2 separate regions of the Homo sapiens genome follow, and region 1 is linked to region 2. Evidence: promoter capture Hi-C in 16 types of primary human blood cells and fetal thymus (Javierre and others, 2016). All regions are on one chromosome and are shown on one strand. The core of a region is centred on a gene start or on the middle of the fragment in contact, and the rest is flanking DNA. Distances in the headings are between cores, read along the strand shown.

Evidence for each region. The method cuts DNA at HindIII sites, captures the fragments that hold promoters and counts their contacts. A CHiCAGO score of 5 or more calls a contact.
Region 1: a contact is called between a fragment that was not itself captured here and the fragment with the promoter of STK32B in region 2, in 1 of 17 cell types (fetal thymus). The highest score is 6.8, in fetal thymus.

What each region holds. Positions count from the first base shown.
Region 1 is chr4:5,183,099-5,186,175 of GRCh38, reverse strand. The region is part of intron 3 of STK32B (serine/threonine kinase 32B); the gene reads right to left. Among named protein-coding and RNA genes, the nearest start is that of STK32B, 130 kb to the right of the region's middle. The HindIII fragment of the contact is 1,434 bases long and covers 585-2,018 here.
Region 2 is chr4:5,049,815-5,052,989 of GRCh38, reverse strand. It overlaps STK32B (serine/threonine kinase 32B), which reads right to left and starts at 1,510. Exons shown (of 12, transcript NM_018401.3): 1 at 1,075-1,510. The coding sequence starts at 1,126. RefSeq lists an enhancer at 270-808. The HindIII fragment of the contact is 3,285 bases long and covers 298-3,175 here.

The DNA.
Region 1 (3,077 bases), core at 52-2,551, 130 kb before region 2:
GGACTATGAACTCCAAGAGGACAGGAGCCATACTGACTGTCTTCACCACTGCACCCTTAGAAATTGGAACAGTGCCTGGTACCCAATAAGAGCCCAGTGAATAGCGACTTAATGAATGAATTCCTGTGGAGGATGAGCAGGAGTTCTCGCAGTGACCGAAGAACAGACGGTGTTCCAGGCAGAGGGCACAGCCTGAGCAGAGGCCTGGAGAGATGAGAACAGTAGGATGTATGACAGATCACCCACAAACCAGTTAGTATGGACGAGAACAAAAATGGCCCAAGATGGTAGTAGGGGTGGGTGTCAGGGGATGAGACTGTACATAGTGTTACAGGCTAGATCACAGAAAGACGTTCATTCTGAGGGCTTCGGGAGCCATTGTGGTATTTTATGCAGAGGCGTGGTAGGCACAGACTTACGCTTTGATAAGACCTGTCCTGTGAAGGGCACGTGGGTGATGGGTAACTGGCTGGGCATTGAAACAGTAGTTAGGAGCCTATAGCAACAGTTCAGGCTAGGGACAATTGCTTCTGTGGAAATGACACTGCTCAGCATCTAGCAATTGTTTATAAGGCTGAGAAGCTTTGTCAAAGGTTTCCCTGATGCCTTCCAGTCTCTGTCCTCCCCCACGTCCCTTTCCCTGCCCTCCACTACTTCAGCCAGATCGGCTCTGCCTTCAAATACTTAATATAGTTTTATTTTAATCAAAGCTCTCAACACTTAAAATGTAGCCTCTGATTTAAGTGATTGTTTCTTGGCTTAGACTGGCAGGTAGATATCCGTGTACTGACTCAGTCCATTGCAACTCAAAAATGATTCTAGAAACCTACATTGCCCTGAGAGCCATTTAAACTAACTTCTGACATCTGTTCTCATCCTGAGAATGTTCATTCATTCTCTCGGTTGTTTAGGCAATAGACAGGGACAGATGCCTCCCTCCTCCGGTTTTAAACAAAACAGATTAACAGTGAGTCTAGTAAATACAGCCAATTAGGTAAGTAGAAATGGATTTTGAAAATGCAGTCCGAACACATGAATGAACTACTGACCCATTAACATTCAATCAGGATAACAGTCTAATGCTAAAAACGCAAGACACATTTTCCAAAAGGCCGTGTCCTCACGTCTGACGCTGGAGGAGAAGGAGAGAACACGTAGTCACACGGAAACAGGGAGCAACCTCACCTCAGGTGCTCAACCAGCCAGAGGCCAGCCTCAAAGGACAAGTGCTAACACAGGCACGCCTCATTTTCCTGTGCTTCTCTTGACAGCACTTAGCAGATCCTGCATATTTCACAAAGTGGAGGTGCACGGCAACCCTGCATCAAGCACATCCATCGGTGCCATGTTTTCCAACAGCATGTGCTCACTTTGTGTCTCTGTCACATTTTGATAATTCTTGGAATATTTCAACTTTTTTCATTATTATGGTATTTGTTATGGCAGTGATCTTTGTTTTCTTTTTCTTCTTCTTCTTCTTTTTTTTTTTTTGAGACAGTCTCGCTCTGTCACCAGGCTGGAATGCAGTGGTGCGATCTCAGCTCACTGCAACCTCTGCCTCCCGGGTTCAAGCAATTCTCCTGCCTCAGCCTCCCAAGTAGCTGGGATTACAGGCATGCACCACCACGCCCAGCTAACTTTTGTATTTTTGGTAGAGACAGGGTTTCACCATGTTGGCCAGACTGGTTTGGAACTCCTGACCTCAAGGGATCCACCTGCCTCAGCCTCCCAAAGTGATCAATAATCTTTGATATTACTACTACAATTGTTTTGGGGCATCATGAGCTGCACCCATATAAGAAGGTAAATGTAATCAATAAATGTTGTGCATGTTCTGAATGCTCCATCGCTGGTTGTTCCCCTACCTCACTCCCTCCCCTTGGGTCTCCCTATTCCCTGAGACACAACAATACTGAAATTAGGCCAAGCAATAACACTACAATGGCCTCTGAGTGCTCAAGTGAAAGGAAGATTCCTATGTCTCTCAATTTAAATCAAAAGCCAGAAATAATTAAGCTTAGTGAGGAAGGCATGTGAAAAGCCAAAATAGGTTAAAAGCTGGGGTTCTTTTGCCGAGCAGTTAGCCAAGTTCTGAATGCAGAGAAAAAGTTACTGAAGGAACTTAAAAGTGCTACTCCAGTGAACATAACAATGATAAAGAAGAGAAACTGCCTAACTGCTGATACGGAGAAAGTTTGAGTGGTCTGGATAGAAAATCAAACTCGCCACAACATCCCCTTAAGCCAAAGCCTAATCCAGAGCAAGTTCCCAACTCTCTTCAATTTTATGAAGGCTGAAAGAGGTGAGGAAGCTGCAGAAGAAAAGCTGAAAGGTAGCAGAGGTTGGTTCAGGAGGTTTAAAGGGGAAAAAAGCTGTTTCCAGGACATAAAAATGCAAAGTGAAGCAGAAAGTGTGATGGAGAAGCTGTAGCAAGTTACTTAGAATATCTTGCTACGGTCATTGACAAAGGTGGCTACACCAAACAACAGATTTTTCAATTAAACAAAACAGCCTTACACTTAAATAAGGAGGCGAACTTAATAAATGTTGTGTGTGTTCTGAATGCTCCACTCACTGGCCATCCCCCATCTCACTTCGTACAAGTATTGGAGGTAGATGCCATCTAGGACTTTAACATCTAGAAAGAATTCAATGGCCGGTTTTATTTTATTTTTTAATTTAATTTTTTTTTTTTTTTGAGATGGAGTTTTGCTCTTTTTGCCCAGGCTGGAGTGCAGTGGTGCAATCTCAGCTCACTGCAACCCCTGCTTCCTCAGTTCAAGCGATTCTCCTGCCTCAGCCTCCCAAGTAGGTGGGATTACAGGCATGCACGACCACGCCCAGCTAATTTTGTATTTTTAGTAGAGATGGGGTTTCTCCATGCTGGTCAGGCTGGTCTTGAACTCCTGACCTCAGGTGATCTGCCTGCCTCGGGTTCCCAATGTGCTGGGATTACAGGCGTGAGCCACCATGCCCGGCCAATGCCTGGTTTTAAAGCTTCAAAAAACAGGCCGACTCTTGCTAGGGGCTAATGCAGTCGGTGACTTTAAGTTGAAGCCAATGCTCACTTACCATTC
Region 2 (3,175 bases), core at 261-2,760:
CCTGCCTCAAGCCCAGCTCTACTTCTTACCAGCAGTAACCAGGACAGACCCCTTTCTAAGGTAGCCACCTCAAGGGGCATGAAAAGGATGGAGTGAACACTATGTGCTAGCATGGCTGGAACATAGTAAGTGCTCAGTATGTCTCAGCTCTTACCTGGGGCACAGTGGAGACTGGCGAGTCAGCACAGTAGGAAACCAGCTTTGAGAGGCAGAGGGCTCTTAACATAAAAAACGGCACAGCTCGGTACTGCTTGCATTTATAAGGCACTTTTCACGTGGATTACTAGTGGTTAAGCTTCAAACAACCCTATAAAGTAGCTAGTGGTATCATAACTCACATTTCATTGATGAAGGGACTAATGTTTCAGAGAGGTGAAGTAAGTTTTCCAGGGACACGCTGCACTGGAAAGAGGGTTCTGCTAGTCCAAATAGGGAGCTCTATCGACCTGAACCGCAAGGATCCAGCCAGGAAGTTGAGATGCGGTTGGACAGCCTACACCACTTCTGCGCCAGGGGGAGGCTGCCCAGAACAGGACGCCCTCCTAGGAACCACAGAGTTTAGCAAAGAAAAGTTTCCCTCTGTCCTGGGTGATTGAGGAGAGCTGCATCCAACAGGCCCTTGCACGAGACCAAATGCGTCGTGGGCACGCGCACACACACACAGACACACGGTGCAACCCGCCCTTCCAGGCCACCTCCGTCAGCCTCAGGCTCTCAAGGAAACCTCGGTTTCCTGGGGAGCCCGAGCCTAGAACCATCCCGACTGGCCTCCGAAGTCAACTCCTCCCTTCCACACCCCCAAGTGCAGGTTTCGGGTTCAACTCTCTGAAGCCGCCTCCCCAGTCCCGCGCTAGGCACCGTCCCGACTACTAAACGGCACTGGGTACCTAGGAGTTGCCTCAGCAGAAGCGCCGCGCCTGGCACGGGTCGGGCACACACTGCATTCGCTGGGCGAAGTGGCCATGCCTGGGTCCCCGCGCCGGGCAGCATGCGGTGCCCCGCAGGGCTCGGCCGAGGGTGGTGGAGGAAGGGGATGCCCCGCGAAGCGGGAATTCGCACCTCTCGCTCTCTTACCTTCCTCATTCTCGTCAAACACGGGGGGCTTGTGGGAGTGGTTCCCGCCCATATTCCGCCGTTGCTGCCGCTGCTACATGCCCGGCCGCTGGGATGCCGGATGCGGGATGTGGGACGCGCGCAGAGATGCGGGATGCCGGGGGCGCGCCCAGTCCGGGTTGTAGCCGCGCGCGGAGCCCGAGGGGGCCGAGCACCGTGCAGGGGCGGGGACGGCGTCCCCCTTCTCCTGGACGCCCTTCCGACTGCGCTCGCAGGGACCCCGCTCTCGCCGCGCCTTCCGCCGTGCCCCGCCTCGGGCTGCGCTCGCAGCTCCTTACTCCAGTGCCCGCCCGGGAACCCGGGAGCTCCTCGCGCCGGGGCCAACGTGCGGCGCTCCTCGCCGGCTACAGCGGGCGGGAGACGCGAGGCGGCGCGGGAGCAGGGGAAGGAGGGGAAGGAGCGGGGGAGGAGGGGACGGACGAAGGCAGCACGCAGTGGGCGGCGGCAGGGCGGAAGGAGCTGAGAAAGGGATCGGCCCGGAAGAATCTGAATCCCTGCTCGGCCCTCCTCCCTCGGCCGGGAGCTCGGTCCCTGCAGGCAGTAAGCGGTTTGTCAGCACCCACTATGGCCAGGCCTCGGCTACGCGCTTTGTTAGCACCATCCCACATCCGCCTCCGACAACCCAGCAGTAAGAAAGCATCGTTCATATTTTAGAGCGCAGTAGACGGAGGTCTAGAGGTAGAGGGGCTCTTAGGTCTGTGGTTAGTCGGCCCCGGCTGCGAAGGGAGTCCCAGGACTCCCCGCTAGCCTGTATTTGCCCATTCATATTGGGATGGGCAGTGGAGTGTCTGCTGGCTCTCCAACCGACGCTGTTCCTCTTAAGGTTTTTCTCAGTGTTTAATGAATGAAAGTATCTGTTTACTTTCTGACCCCTTAAGATTAGATACTAATCTGACCCCTTCATTGTACATGGGGAAACTGAGGCCCCAGACAGCCATAGTTTGCCCCAAACCATTCTCCCTGGGAATGGCTGGGCATGAGTCTCGGGATTCCCCCAAAATTGGGCGGCATCGGCGTCCGATTTAGGGGCGAGGCTAGCATGAGGGTCCCTGGGCTCCTGCGGCGGGAGCCTGGATCGGGAGATACGCGCCACAGTTGCGGGTGCCTAAGTAAGGGGTGCGGCAGATGCGCCCCAAGACGTGTGGGGCGAGCGCGGGTTCCCAGGACGCTCCCTGAGGGACAGGCAGGTCCCCCTGCCTTGCAGTCCTGCGGGCCCAGCTCTCCGGGACTGCAGGGAATCTTTGGCTACATCCTGCCATCTGCTGGGCGCCTGGAACCACTGTCCGTGCTTTGATAGAAAGCAGGGGTTCTTTGTGACTCTCTCCATCCTATCTCGTCCCCCAGTCCCCGTCCCCTACCTGGTCTCTCTCTCCAGTTCTCTCCCCTTCTTTCTTTTTCTTGGGAGAAGGGTGAGGGAAGCCGGGGAGACTCATACAGAAACAAAACAAAACAAAACAAAACAAAAAATCTCTTAAAGGCAGTGGGAAAGAACTGAGAAGGTCTGAGGCAGGCCCACCCACCATGACCCAGAGCTGGCTCTACCATTTACTGGCAATGTGTCCCACTTTGGAGTTCTTATCTGCAAAGTGGGCTGATTGATATTAACTCCTTGGGTTGTCTGTGAGAATTATATCAGGTAATATTTATAAAAGCAGGCAACAGTGCCCGGCATATAATAAATGATGAATAAATATTTCTTGCCTTTCATTCCACCAACAAGCATACACTGAGTAGCCAGTGTGCAGCAGGCAATGCCCTGAACACAGAGCTGGCCCCTAGCTCAAGAAGCATAGGGCGGAATGTGGACAGGCATGGGCTCTGGGCTCATTCTACCCAGGTTTCATTCTGCTTTGCCCCTCATTAGCCAGTTAACTTGGATAAATTACTTAACCTGTTCTGGACTCAGTTTCTTCATCTGAGTCCAGAAGGTGCTAATAAGAGAACTTTCCCTTTCTAACATTGTTATGAGGAATATATTGATATTGTGCTAGGCCGGGCGTGGGGGCTCACACCTGTAATCCCAGCACTTTGGGAGGCTGAGGCGGGTGGATCACCTGAAGTC